Regions from separate parts of the Homo sapiens genome. Here regions 1, 2, 4 and 5 are each linked to region 3. The links are contacts of gene promoters, found by promoter capture Hi-C in human tissues and cell types (Jung and others, 2019). All regions are on one chromosome and are shown on one strand. The core of a region is centred on a gene start or on the middle of the fragment in contact, and the rest is flanking DNA. Distances in the headings are between cores, read along the strand shown. Region 1 holds the start of TAB1 (TGF-beta activated kinase 1 (MAP3K7) binding protein 1). Region 2 overlaps GTPBP1 (GTP binding protein 1). Region 3 holds the start of APOBEC3B (apolipoprotein B mRNA editing enzyme catalytic subunit 3B). Region 4 overlaps SYNGR1 (synaptogyrin 1). Region 5 holds the start of PDGFB (platelet derived growth factor subunit B).

Region 1 (2,700 bases), core at 131-2,630, 420 kb after region 3:
CAACTCTGTGCAAGCCACAGTGGGCTCCCGTGACAAGTGTGCTTTTTTTTTTTTTTTTTTTAAGACAGAGTCTCACTCTGTTGCCCAGGTTGGAGTGCAGTGGAGTGATCTCAGCTCACTCACTGCAACCTCCACCTCCCAGGTTCGTGATTCTCCTGCTTCAGCCTCCCAAGTAGCTGGGATTACAGGCGTGCACCACCATGCCTGGCTAATTTTTTGTAGTTTTAGTAGAGATGGGGTTTCACCATGTTGGCTGGACTGATCTCGAACTCCTGACCTCAGGTGATCCACCGGCCTCGGCCTCCCAAAGTGCTGGGATTACAGGCATGAGCCACCGCGCCTGCCCCCGGCAGAATGTCTTATATACATAAATGTTGTCCTCTCCAATTAAAATGTTAACATTTTAGGTTGGGCGGGGTGGCTCACACTTGTAATCCCAGCACTTTGGGAGGCCCAGGCAGAAGAATCGTTTTAGGCCAGGAGTTTGAGACCAGCCTGGCCAACATAGCGGTACTCCGTCTCTACAAAAAATGTAAAAGATTAGCTGGGCGTGGTGGCGGGCGCCTGTAACCCCAGCTACTCGGGAGGCTGAGGCAGGAGAATCGCTTCAACCCGGGAGGCAGAGGTTGCAGTGAGTCCAGATCACGCCACTGCATTCCAGCCTGGGCGACAGAGCAAGCCTCCGTCTCAAAAATAACATAACATAACATAACATAAAATAATAATAAAATGAAATGAAATAAAATAAAATAAAATGTTAGCTTTTTGAAGGCCTGTCCTGCTCGCTGCAGAACCCACTATAGAGCCAAGCAGGGTCACCTAGGTAGCATTTGCTGAGTGAATGAATTGTCCTCCCCTTACCAACTGTGTTCACAAAGAACCCTCAGGAGTTCAAGACCAGCCTGGCCAACATGGCGAAACCCCGTTTCTACTAAAAATACAAAAATTAGCCGGGCGTGGTGGCTCATGCCTGTAGTCCCGGCTACTCCGGAGGCTGGGGCAGGAGAGGCGGGCACCTGTAATCCCAGCTACTCGGGAAGCTGAGGAAGGAGAATCGCTTGAGGCCGGAAGGCAGAGGTTGCAGGGAGCTGTGATCGCGCCACTGCACTCCAGCCTGGGTGACAGAGTGAGACCCTATCTCAAAAAATAATAAAGATGGGCGAGGAGCAATCGGCCCCGAGGAAAAGACAAAACAAAACAACAACAACAACAACAACAACAAAACGTGCAAGAGCGCGCCTGCGCACACGGTCCGCTACGACCCCCATCCCTCTTCGGGCGTGGGGTGGCGCTGGGCGCATGCTCCCCGGCAGCGCGGTCATCCTCGCCTCCTTCGGGCCGCTCTAGCCGCCCCACTCGCTGCTCTGCGGGGAGGCGGGCGCTCCCGCAGGGGTTCCTCCAAGATGGCGGCGCAGAGGAGGAGCTTGCTGCAGAGTGTGAGGAACAGGCCCGCTCTCTGGGCTTGGGGTTGGGAGCCTGGGCGGGGGTGCTGTCGGGTGCAGGAACGGCTCCTTCTCCGAGTTTGGACAGCCACCCTCTCCGTGGTGGGGTGTGTCAGCCACCTTCTCCTCTCCTCGGGCTGGCCCCCTCGTTCCCGAGGCCAGGGCGTGTGTGCGCGGCGGGCCCGGCCCCCGGGTCAAGGGCGCCGGGGCTGTGGGCTGCTGCTGCCGGGCGTCGAGGGCGGGAGCGTCCTGGAGCCAGAAGGGAACACGGCGGGCGGCAGCAGAGCTATCCGAGTCTCGAGCCCACTGCGACACCGAGCAGACGTGCAATGATAATAACAGCAGCATCCACAGTGTACCGCTTACTGCATCCCCGGCGTTGTGTTAATTGCTTTACATTTGTCAGTTTCATTTTCGTAGCAGCCCCCTGAGATAGGTGCTACTGTTATTCCTATTTGACAGACTGAGACACTGAGGTGGTCGTTTGCCTAAGGCCACACAAATGGTACGTATTGAGGCAGGATTAAAATCAGGCAGTGTGATTCCAGAAACCCCCTTAACCCCTGGGCTGTACTAAAGGAATGACCAGTGGTAGCTGTCACTGGGTTCTGGTCCTGGCTCTGACTGTGTCTCCCTCAGCCTCAGTTTCCTTCTCCTAAGGCGAGAGCGCTGAGTGGAAGAATTGTCTTCAGACTCATCCCTACCCCCGGTCTGGACCCTCATGGGTTTGGCGCTGTCTTCCAGGCCCTGCGTCCTCTGACGCGTATGTGCACATAGATGCACACACATGTTGGCACCATGGACTACTCTGACCTACCAGGGTAGGGTGCTGGCCTCCTGGGTCCTTCCTATGCATGGCACTGTTAGAATTGTCTATGGACTTGTCTGCCTCCTGTACTAGAAAGTAAACTCCGCCGGGCGCGGTGGCTCATGCCTGTAATCCCAGAACTATGGGAGGCTGAGGCGGGTGGATCACGAGGTCAGGAGATCAAGACCATCCTGGCCAACATGGTGAAACCCCGTCTTTACTAAAAATACAAAAATTAGCCGAGCGTGGTGGGGGCGCCTGTAGTCCCAACTATTCGGGAGGCTGAGGCAGGAGAATTAGCTTGAACACAGGAGGCGGAGCTTGCAGCGAGCCAAGATCGGGCCACTGCACTCCAGCCTGGAGCGACAGAGCGAGACTGTGTCTCAAAAAAAAAAAAAAAAAAAAAACGAAAGTAAACTCCTTGAGGACAGGGACCTGTGATCTCTTGTT
Region 2 (2,700 bases), core at 33-2,532, 260 kb before region 3:
TTGCTTCTCCAGGCATTGTGGCATTTAACACTGGTCCATCTATCTGTCTGTCTCCTGCTTGCATCAGTAATGAGTGGACCCATCTTGCTCTTAAAGCCTGGCCAAAGAGAAGGCTGTGTCCCCCTAATTCTGTTCCATTGCACCCTTTAAGAAACCCTGAAGCTGTTACAGCGCCTGCTGAAGTCACCAGGCTGCCGGAAGATCCCCGTGCTGGTGCAGAGCAAAGATGATGTGATTGTCACAGCCTCCAACTTCAGCTCTGAAAGGTAACGCGTGGGGAGCGCACACTTCAGACAGGCACCCTTGCAGGCAGGACCACAGTGAGTGATGGGCCTGGAATGGCTGTCAGTTTGGGCATAAGGTCTCATGAAAACACCACATCAACACCTCTCCCTATTCAGAGATCGGAGGAAATAGAAGCTTCCAATCTTAGCGCAGGGTCTCCCAAGCCAGCATTGTTGCCCAGGGGTAATATCACGTAACCCAGATTGTGAGGTGCTGGCATTCCTGGGGTTGGCATCCCGGCTGAGACTTCAGTGTCCTTATCTGTGAAATGGGAATAACATTCCCTTCCCTGTAGGGCTCCCGTGAATGTTGGAAATGAAGTATGTAGAGCACTTAATGCCCTGCCTGGCTGATGGATGGTAAATACACAGCCATTTTTGTAACTCAGTTTTTTATACTGTTGTTCCTCAAAAGCTCACTAATCAGATCAGTTTTGGCATTTACTCATTAATGTATTCTTTCATTCCATAAATATTTATTGGATGTTTGTTCTGCGAGACTCTTCATCTAGATGTTGAGGATTCAGAGTTGAATTGAACACAATCCTTGTCCTCAAGGTGTTCAGCTCCTTGGTGAGAGATGCTCTCTCGATAATGGTGAACTCTACTAACTCTGCCTGTTTGCCCAGAGCTTGGTCTATAGCGCCAGGCCCAGAGCAGCCTGGCTTTTTGCCTATGCCTCTGCCCTGATGTGATCTTCAGTACCATCAGTTAGCCTGCAGAGGGGGCACATTTCAGACAGCCCCATTTGAGCTTGTTGATATTCTTGAGTGCCTATTCTGTGCAGGCACTATTCTAGGAGCTGTGGGGAATGTGTAATTCGTGATCTCAAGGATTTTAATTCAGTCACCCTGAATAGGAGCAATAGAGGCCATTTACAGGACTCTGATGAAAAATCAGATGCAGTCATGTGTAATAGAGAAAAAGCTCTCCAGGAACTCAGAGGAGTCAAGAGTGTCCACCCAGGAAGGATTTCATGGAAGAAGTGGTATTTGAGATGAGCTCTGAAGGGTGAGAGGGCCTGGTAGTTGCATAAAAGGGAAAGAATTCAGGAAGGAAGGTCAGAGTGAGCAAATCCACAAGGGCAGAAAAGTTCCAAAGTTTTAGGAGAAGGGAGAGTTCTCTGGTGTGGCTGGAATATAGGAATTTGCGAGAAGTGAATCTGCAGAGATGGCTACAAGCCCAAGCCAAAGGGCTGTGAGTGTTGGGAGAGGGATTTGGGGTATCTTCTCTGTGGTGGAAAGGCGGTTAAGGATTTTAAGCAAGCATGCGTGTGTTTTAGGAAGAAGCAGTCATGAGGTTCCAAACTAGGGCAGTGGTGGAGGACAGAGAGGAGAGGACAGGTGTCAGAGACAGAACTGAGTGAGAGAAGAAGGCCTCAGAGTAGGGCTGGCCAGGAGCTTGCTAGGTCAGGGCAAAGAGGTCAAGCCCTTGGAGGCAGGTGAGGGAGAGGTGGAGTCATGAATAGTGGCATCTGCTCCTCGAGCCCTGTTGCTGCCCCTGGTCTGTGTCAGGGCAGGACCTGGTCTCCTGAGTGCCTCTCTCCTTTTTTCCTTCCTCTTCTCCCTCTGCTTAGGATGTGCCCGATATTCCAGATCTCCAACGTTACAGGCGAGAACCTAGATCTGCTGAAGATGTTCCTCAACCTCCTCTCCCCCCGCACCAGCTACAGGGAGGAGGAGCCTGCTGAGTTTCAGATTGATGACACCTACTCCGTCCCGGTAAGTGGCTCTGGGCGGGTAGCTGGGTGGGCACTTCCTACAGTGGCATCAGGGGGTGGGTCTGTGCTGGGGATGCACTTATGAGGCCAGGGTCTTCTCCTTGGCAGGGTGTGGGGACAGTGGTTTCGGGGACAACACTGAGAGGCCTGATCAAGCTGAATGACACGCTGCTGCTGGGCCCAGACCCCTTGGGTAACTTCCTGTCCATTGCTGTCAAATCCATCCATCGCAAGCGCATGCCTGTCAAGGAGGTGCGGGGTGGCCAGACAGCATCCTTTGCGCTGAAGAAGGTGAGTAGCGATGATACTGAACGCTCCCCTCAGACTCCATCATGCTAGGCTCTTGGCCAGATGCCCTGCTCACCCACTCTAGTCCTCATGGCTGCTCTGCAAGGTCGGGATTACTGGCTTCATTTTTACAGATGAGGAAACTGAGGCTCAGAGCCCAGGGACTTGCCCAAGACACACAGCTTGTAAGTGCTAGAGCGAGGAATGCCTCCTTCTAAGCTCCGTTCCTCCCTCTGGTGCCTGAGCAGGGTGGCCTGAGCTCAGTGGTGAGGTCAAATAGGAGTATCCCTGCTGTGCAAGGATCCTTCTACATAGGACCATTGGGATCTGCGCCACATCCTCTTCCCATTCAGCCTTCTATCTCCTGGGGTTTGGGGTGGGTTGTAGTTCAGGGGTCACCTACCTTTA
Region 3 (2,805 bases), core at 12-2,511:
TCTGACGGCAACAGAAAACTTCACCTTCCAGAGGAGCGCCTCTGCCTGGCTGTCCCACCGTCTGGGAAGTAAGGAGCGCCTCTGCCCAGCCCCCGCACCGTCTGGGAAGTGAGGAGCGCCTCTGGACGGCCCCCGCACCGTCTGGGAAGTGAGGAGCGCTTCTGGACGGCTCCCAGCAACCCCCCAGGTGTGAAGTGACAGCCCTGTGTGTGATCTTTCTGCCCTCCCCAAGTTTGCATTTTCGACAATAAAATTTACTTTTAAATTAAAAGATTTATACTGGGGAAGATTTAAAAAAAAAAAAAGAAAGAAAAGAAAACTCACCTTCCAAAAACAACCACTGGGAGTCCGCTTTGTGCAGAGGTTGGACAAGCTTCTGTGCAGGTAGGGGCGCTGCTGCTCCCCCTACCACCCACGCATCCTCCTCCCTGTCTGCATTCCCGTCGTCGTAGCCAGAGGAGTTCAGAGCCTCTACAGAGAGCACAACTTCTCCAGCTGGAACAAACTCCCCTTAAAGGAATCTATTTAGGAAGATTATTTCAATGTACATTCATTCCTCCAAAATATGCTTAGATGGACTTAAATAATCAGAAAGCTGTGTGTGTATGTGTTTCCCGTTTTCTTGGCCCACAAAGAACCCCTTGAGAGGTCCCTGGGCAGTGAGCCTGTTTATAGACACCCTTCTCCCTTCCTTGGTGTCGCAGACATCGCAGTCCCTCTGAGGGGCTGACCTGCCCCCCACCTTCTGGAAGCTGGGAGGTTGGAAGAGGGGACGCATGCCATGGACCCAGCACACAGCTGGGAACTCGAGGCACACCTAAGCCTTCCCTTGTGCTGTGCGGAGTCCACACTTCCTTCCCCACTGGAGTCTCAAAACCTCCCCTCACTCAACAGGGTGGTGCTGCTCAAAGCTCTGGGCACACATTAGGGCTGGGGAGGGGGTGGTGGAGAGGGGGCTCCAGCCTGCCCAACCACCAGGCAACGGGGCACCTGCCCCTCTCTCAGCTGGGTCTGGACCCGCCTCCCAGGCTCAGGCTGCAATGCCTTTCTCTTTCTCTTTGCAATTCCGTTGGGTCCTGCCCAGGACAGATAAAGACAGAGCAGCCTGTCTTTATTGGAGGTTCCTCTGCCAGCGGGAAGGGTCCGGGGAAAACCAGAGCCAGAGCCAGAGCCAGAGAAACATGAAGCACCCCGGGGCCTCCCACACCAATGCCTGAGCAGGAATGGGGAGGGGCCATGACTCATAAGGCCCTGGGAGGTCACTTTAAGGAGGGCTGTCCAACTGCAAGGACGCTGTAAGCAGGAAGTGAAACCACAGAGCTTCAAAAAAAGAGCGGGACAGGGACAAGCGTATCTAAGAGGCTGAACATGAATCCACAGATCAGGTACCGCTGCCCACTCTGCCTGCTGGGCCCCTCCTGCCCCTTCCTGCCTGGTGGTCCTGCTGGGCCTCAACCCTGGCCTCCCCCCGCCCCTGCCCCAGCCCTGGGCTCCCTCCCCTCTGGCTCCCCTGCCACACGAATCCCAGTCAGGCTCTTTGTCCTGCTGTGTGGTCACCCCACTGCTGCTTCTGAATGGGCTGCCTCCCCTACCTGCACCAGCCCAGGCCCCGTGCTGAGACTCTCCCTTAAAGTCATGCCCGGACTGGTGCTCCCCGCCCTGGGAGGGTGCTCCCTCTGTGTGCTTCCTGCCACTCCTGAGCTCAGAAACTGGGAGAATTGAACCAAAGGGTAATTGGAGCAATCAGGCATTTTTGTTCTCAGTGTTTTGATGAAATTTCTGTAAGAATTACTTTGCTTAAATACAAAGTCTTAGGAGAGGGTGCGGGGGTAGGAATGGTCTCTGAAGCACATGATAAATCGTGTCATCCAAGGATGACTCCATGGTGAGCAGATGTCCCCAGACAGGTTCCACTCCAAGGTCACTCTTCATCTTTTAGAACATGACCAGTGGTTGAGCGTGGTGGCTCACACTTGTAATCCCAACACTTTGGGAGGCCAAGGCGGGCGGATCATGAGGTCGGGAGTTTGAGACCAACCTGGCCCATATGGTGAAACCCCGTCTCTACTAAAAAACATACAAAAATTAGCCAGGCATGGTGGCGCATCTCTAGTCCCAGATACTCAGGAGGTTTAGGCAGGAGAATTGCTTGAACCTGGGAGGTGGAGGTTGCAGTGAGCTGAGATCATGCCACTGCACTCCAGCCTGGGCGACAGAGTGAGACTTCATCAAAAAAAAAAAGAAAGAACATGATCAGTAACATGGAATGTGAGAATGTGGGAAAAAAGTGCAATGATGAGGAGAAATGCTCTGATTTTAAAATTTAGTGAAAAGAGAGCCCAGTCCCCAACAGCTTTCTCCTACAGGATCCGTGATGCAGAGGCTGGACAGGGCTGGCCTGGAAAGGGGCCCCTGCTCCATCCGTCCCCAGCTCTGTGGCCTCGGCAGGTTACCCCGCCTCTCTGTGCCTCTGGCATCTCCTCTGTAAGATGGGAATGGCCCCTGCAGGCCTAGGGTAGCCTCACGTGAGCTCACACCCGCTCAGCACTTAGAAGAGTGGCCTGGGCCTCAGAATTCAGTTCTACCATGATTTTAAAATAATGTTAACACGCAGAGTGAAACATCAGGAAGGAATTGAGCTGAAAGGTTAAAAGCTATTTTTTAGGGGTGAAGGGTTTTATTCTCTTTTGCATTCTCCTAATGGGTTGGGGAGTGGGTTGGCAGAAATACTAGGAGGGTGGGGAATGTACCCCTGGAAAGGCCAGAGTTGGACCCGAGCTGGGAGAGATCACCCCAGCCCGCCTG
Region 4 (2,700 bases), core at 20-2,519, 370 kb after region 3:
TGCCCAGGCTGGAGTACAATGGTGCCATCTCGGCTCATTGCAACCTCCGCCTCCCAGGTTCAAGCAACTCTACTGCCTCGGCCTCCCAAGTAGCTGGGACTACAGGCACACACCACCACGCCCAGCTAATTTTTGTATTTTTAGTAGAGATGGGGTTTCACCATGTTAGCCAGGCTGGTCTCGAACTCCTGACCTCAGGTGATCCACCTGCCTTGGCCTCCCAACGTGCTGGGATTACAGGCGTGAGCCACCGCACCCGGCCTGGACCTGGGATTTTTGTAAAATTTGTAAAAGAAAGATTTTTTTTTCTGTTGCTTTTCCAAAAGAGGGCCCCCAAATCATGTAAGCTTCAGGGCCTCACCAACCTGGACCCACCCTGGAACCCAAGCCCTCTGAGCCCCTGGGTCAGCCTGCACAGAAGCAGGGCCTCCAAGACCTGGCTTGTCTCTTTTTTATTTTTTTAGAGACAGGATCTTGCTGTGTTGCCCAGGCTGGTCTCAGACTCCTGGACTCAAGTGATCCTCCCACCTCAGCCTTGTGAGCAGCTGGGACGATGAGGCGAGGCGTGGGCCACTGCATCCGGCATGGCTTGTCTCTTGACTAAGGCTTTCTCACCTCTTGGTGTCATCGCCCCAGTGGCAGATCAGCTGCCACTCCTGGCACCCCCAGGCCACAGCTGTGACCTTCAGTAAGTGTCCCCTCCCCACCCTCTGTGCCTCAGTCTTCCCACCCGAACTGGGCTGGGCTGGGTCAGAAGTGCCTGATCTGTTGCGCGGTGACTGCCGCCTGTCAGTGACTCATTTCTTTGTTCTAAAGCCAGATGGGAAAAAAAGGAGTTACAGCAAGAAGCTAAACTGATTTAATAGAAAGGACCACCTTTTATTTGGAGTTTATATTCTTTTTTGCAGGGGGCTAAGATGGACTATAGGGAATGAATATCAGTGCTGGCAGATGAGTTTTTTGTTTGTTTGTTTTTTGTTTTTGAGATGGAGTCTCGCTCTGTCTCCAGGCTAGAGTGCAGTGGCGCGATCTTGGCTCACTGCAACCTCTGCCTCCTGGTTTCAAGTGATTCTCCTGCCTCAGCCTCCCAAATAGCTGGGATTACAGGCACCCACCACCATGCCCAGCTACTTTTTAAATTTTTAGTAGAGACGGGGTTTCACCATCTTGGCCAGGCTGGTCTCAAACTCCTGACCTAGTGATCCACCCGCCTCAGCCTCCCAAAGTGCTGGGATTACAGGTGTGAGCCACCGTGCCCAGTCAATGTTTCTTTAATTCTCTACTTTGACAAAATGAAAATGATAAAATGTTTGAAATGTTGCCATTTTCAGGGTTCATTTTTTAAGGGCTTTGGCCATAATACCACATGGTTCTGTAAGTGGGGTGGGTATCTTCCCCCCGTTTTACAAATGACAGAATTAAGGCTCAGCCTGGAGAAGTGACTTGTGCTAGCTCAAGGCCTGGGCTTGTCAGAGACTTGGTTTGAACCCGGACTGCTGGGCTCCACATTCTGTGTACTCCCTGTGGGTTCTCTGCCTGGATATCCATGGCACCAAGGGGTGGCCTGAGGGGGGCAGCTTCATACCCCTGGTTTTATTCACCCCCTCCACTCCACCCCCCATCATCCCAAGTGAACACTGAATAAAAAAGCTGAACTTGGCCAGGTGAGGTGGCTCACGCCTATAATCCCAGCACTTTGGGAGGCCAAGGCGGGTGGATCACTTGAGGTCAGGAGTTCGAGACCATCCTGGCCAACATGGTGAAACCCCATCTCTACTAAAATACAAAAATTAGCTGAGCGTGGTGGCGGTCGCCTGTTATCCCAGCTACTCAGGAGGCTGAGGCAGGAGAATCGCTTGAACCCGGGAGGCGGAGGTTGCAGTTAGCTGAGATCACACCACTGCACTCCAGCCTGGGCAACAAAAGCAAAACTCTGTCTCAAATAAAAAAAAAAAAAAGCTGAACGTTTTTTGTAAACACAGCAGTTTCAAGATAAGACCCCTTGCCTCCCCCAACCAACTTGCCATGTGCCAGCCATGGGGCCACAGGAAAATTCTGGGACCAGCGGTTGTTGGGGAAGAGGGTCCAGGGTAGAGACAGAACCTCTGGCCAGTTCTGATGTTCATTTGTTCATTCCACAAGTCCCCTGCTCAGTGCCAGCTGAGTGCTCAGTGCCACCCCAAGGCACTCTCGCTCCAATAACGAGAACAGGATTGAGTGGGAAGCACTGTCCCAGAGGCTCGGGTCACTACAAGAAGGAATTCCCAAGGGGTGGCCCAGGAGAGGCTTGGATGACAGACTCACAAGCTGGACTTCCTCTGAGGGCAGTGGGAAGCTGGAGAGAGGGTCAAGGGTATTTCGGAAGCTCCTGTGGAAGCTTGGTTTGGAGAGGGCTCTGTGGCTGGAAATGCGTGGTCACGTCCAGCCTGTCCTCTCCCAGTACCGGGCACAGCCCTGTCACCTAGACAGGAAGGTGGGCCCACGGCCCTTGTTTGTTATTTATTGCTGACCACCCTGGAGTCTTTCTCACCTCTTCACCTCCTGTGGCCGGCCGCTCCGCCGCTTCTTCTCTCTCAGGTCTAGGACAGGGTCAGCTGCAAGGAGACCGCTGGGAGGTGATAGATTTCTGCTGTGTTTTGGGCACTTCCTCATGTCCAGGGACAGCCCAGGGGCGGCCTCAAGAGCCTGAGAAAGCCTAGG
Region 5 (2,700 bases), core at 1-2,500, 260 kb after region 3:
CTGTCACCCCCGGACCTCGCTCCCAGCCCGAAGAGGTCACCCAGCGCCCGGCGTCAGGCTCGCGGGCTGCAAGGGTCCAAAGTTCACTGCAGGGAGAGGAGGGGGCGGTCAGAAGGGGGGGGCGAAGGTAATGAATGAAGAACCAGCCCCAGCCGCCGTGGCAACTCACCTCGGCGCTGACCAGACGCAGGTAGCAGCAGAGAGACAGGAAGAGCGCCCAGCAGCGATTCATGCCGACTCCGGGCCCGGCCCCGCGGGGCCCCGGACGCGTAGATCGAGCGCGCCGCCCCCGCGGCCAGGGTGGGGGGCTGGGGAGGGGGGTGGGCTCGGCTCGGGTCCGCGGCGATCAGGCGCTCAGGCCTCTGCAGCCGCGGCTCACCCGCATGGCCCCCGGGCGCCGCCGCCCCCGGCCCCGGCTCCGTCGCTGGGGGGCAGGGGAGGACCTGGGCGCAGGACCTGGGTCCGAGGCCGCTACCTGGGCGGATCCCGAGCCCGAGTGAGCATCCACGGCCGGGGGGCTGCGTCGCGAACCAGCCGAGGCGTCTAGCCGTGTGGGGGCGCCCAGGGGACTCCAACCTCCAAGAGGAAAAGGAACACGGCAGTCGATGGTTCGTCTTCACTCGCCGGCTACAGGCGTTTTCCTCTGCCCGCCGGCTTAGCTTTTTTGCAACATTTTCTGGAAAGGCCCCCAAAATCGGAAAGCGCGGAGCTGGGCACCTCAAGGCCCAAGTCTCCCCCAAAAAACTTTTTCCAAAGTTGGCTTTGCAACGGCAGCTCGAGCACCCGGGCAGGGAGAGGTGCAAACTCCCGCCCGGGCCGGGTAGGGGGGCGGGAGCGTGTGCGCCCTGGCGCGGGGCCCGGGCGGCGGGCACGGCTGCTCCGCGCGCGCGGCGTGCCCGCTGCGCGCTCGGCTGGGCCCGGCCGACAGGTGGACGCGGCGCGAGTCCGTCGGTCCGTCTGCCCGCCCGCTCGCCGCTCTGGGCGTCCTCTGCGGGCTGCGGGCTGCGAGCTGCGAGCTGCGAGCTGCGGCTGCTCCGGTTTTCTCTTTGCAGCGAGGCTGGAGGGTGGGCTTTTTTTTTTTTTTTTCCTTTTTGCGCGCGTATGTATGTGTGTGCGCGCAAAGTATCTCTATCTAGGGAATGAAAAATGGGCGCTGGCGGCCGGAGGGGAGCCCTAGGGAGGCAGCGGGGGAGGCTGCGGGTGCGCAGGGAGGCAGGCAGGCCGCTCCCGGCTGCAGGAGGAGAAGTTGCCACCCTTTCAGCTGTTCCGGCCTTTATAAAGGAGAAGGGAGAGTGCGAGAGGTGGGTGGAGACAGCCTTTCCTCTTCTGGCCCGGAGTCAGCGCCAGGAGGGGGGGGACGCGGGAGCTGGGGGAGGGCTTGGGGCCAGGGCGGGGCGCTTAGGGGGTCTCTGAGAGCCGAGCAACCCTTCAGTCCATGAATCTGGCCCTGGGGAAAAAAGAACTAGGGGTGACCCACCGTCCCGCCCCTCAGCACAGTGACCATGGACAGGTTAGGAGCCCACGTGGTCTAGGGGGATGTCTCCAGAGCCAAGGCCAGGAGTCCACGCTCCCCTCCAGGACCAGACATTTCCACCCTGGCACAGGCATGGCAGGGAGGGACTCAGGCTCTGCAGTCTGAGAGCCTGAATTCAGATCCTGCCCTGGCACTCGGGAGCTTGGGTCACCTTGGGCAAGTCACTTCCCTCTGTCCCCTCCATCTAGCCTCAACCTGGAGATGGGGCTATTGTAAGGACTCAGTGTTAGCAAGGGAAGACACCGCAAGGTGAACCCACAGAACCCGGCAGCCAGCGCCCTTCAGCTGCAAGCTGGGTCCGAGTCTCCTCCTCCTAGCTGGTTGCCTGGCACAACAGGCCCTGCCAGCGTTGGCTGAATTTGAATTTGTTGAACTGCAAAGTCACACAAACCCCCACAGCCCTGCAGCATCTTCGCAGGGCTACCAACATGATCTTCCCGTCAGTCACCCTGCTGTTTACTATCTCCCTCAGCCCCCGGGTTCGAGGCCCAGAGCCCACCCACCCACAACCAGCCTTCACACAGTTAACGCCTTCTGCCCCCAGTCAGGGAGCTGCTGTGTCCCTGCCTTCAGCAGTCACACTGTCTCAGTCACAGTCACACGTACTCACACTGGGCCCAGCACCCCCCTCGGGACACGCAGGCTCCTGCATCACCCAGCCTCCCGGCTTTGAGGCACCCTCATCTCCTCCGCTTGCACTGTCTCTGTTATCCGCCCTTCCCTTTGGGATGTCAGCCTGCTTCTCACAGAGGAGCACACTGAGAGAGTCACACCTGCTCTCTCTTCATAGACTGTCTTCTTGGACCTGGACAGGGTGGAACAGAGGAGGAAGGACATCTCAGGTGGTCTTTACAGACCACTGCAGGCACCCACCCACTGCTGCCTACCACCCAGCAGCGTGGCACAGTGGCAGAGACACAGCCTGAAGACACATCACCTTGGTCCAAATCCTGGAGTGGCCACTTGCTGGACAAGTGTCTGCAGGAAGGTTTTTTAACCTCTCAGTACCTCGGTTTCCTCCTTTATAAACTGGAGATGAATTTATAAACTGGAGCTGGGTGTGGTAACAAGCTCCTGTAGTCCCAGCTACTCAGGAGACTGTGGATCGTTTTGAGCCCAGGAGTTTGAGGCTGCAGTGAGTTGTGACTGTGCCACTGCACTCCAGC

Evidence for each region. Contacts are between HindIII fragments. The study calls those that stand out against the background at their distance.
Region 1: a contact is called between the fragment with the promoter of TAB1 here and the fragment with the promoter of APOBEC3B in region 3, in 4 of the 25 tissues and cell types used here (adrenal gland, aorta, bladder and 1 more).
Region 2: a fragment that was not itself captured here is called in contact with the fragment with the promoter of APOBEC3B in region 3 in 2 of the 25 tissues and cell types used here (liver and spleen).
Region 4: a contact is called between a fragment that was not itself captured here and the fragment with the promoter of APOBEC3B in region 3, in 5 of the 25 tissues and cell types used here (adrenal gland, lymphoblastoid cells, mesenchymal stem cells and 2 more).
Region 5: a contact is called between the fragment with the promoter of PDGFB here and the fragment with the promoter of APOBEC3B in region 3, in 1 of the 25 tissues and cell types used here (liver).

The regions. Positions count from the first base shown.
Region 1 is chr22:39,398,400-39,401,099 of GRCh38, forward strand. It overlaps TAB1 (TGF-beta activated kinase 1 (MAP3K7) binding protein 1), which reads left to right and starts at 1,381. Exons shown (of 11, transcript NM_006116.3): 1 at 1,381-1,436. The coding sequence starts at 1,404. RefSeq lists an enhancer at 1,320-1,439 and a silencer at 1,600-1,739. The HindIII fragment of the contact is 8,049 bases long and covers 1-2,700 here.
Region 2 is chr22:38,724,146-38,726,845 of GRCh38, forward strand. It overlaps GTPBP1 (GTP binding protein 1), which reads left to right. Exons shown (of 12, transcript NM_004286.5): 6 at 152-266; 7 at 1,861-2,005; 8 at 2,113-2,295. Among named protein-coding and RNA genes, the nearest start is that of GTPBP1, 20 kb to the left of the region's middle. The HindIII fragment of the contact is 3,648 bases long and covers 1-2,700 here.
Region 3 is chr22:38,981,086-38,983,890 of GRCh38, forward strand. It overlaps APOBEC3B (apolipoprotein B mRNA editing enzyme catalytic subunit 3B), which reads left to right and starts at 1,262. Exons shown (of 8, transcript NM_004900.5): 1 at 1,262-1,385. The coding sequence starts at 1,369. RefSeq lists a silencer at 1,396-1,445. The HindIII fragment of the contact is 18,696 bases long and covers 1-2,805 here.
Region 4 is chr22:39,352,900-39,355,599 of GRCh38, forward strand. The region is part of intron 1 of SYNGR1 (synaptogyrin 1); the gene reads left to right. Among named protein-coding and RNA genes, the nearest start is that of SYNGR1, 4.3 kb to the left of the region's middle. The HindIII fragment of the contact is 5,350 bases long and covers 1-2,700 here.
Region 5 is chr22:39,243,732-39,246,431 of GRCh38, forward strand. It overlaps PDGFB (platelet derived growth factor subunit B), which reads right to left and starts at 1,251. Exons shown (of 7, transcript NM_002608.4): 1 at 170-1,251. The coding sequence starts at 232. The HindIII fragment of the contact is 11,810 bases long and covers 1-2,700 here.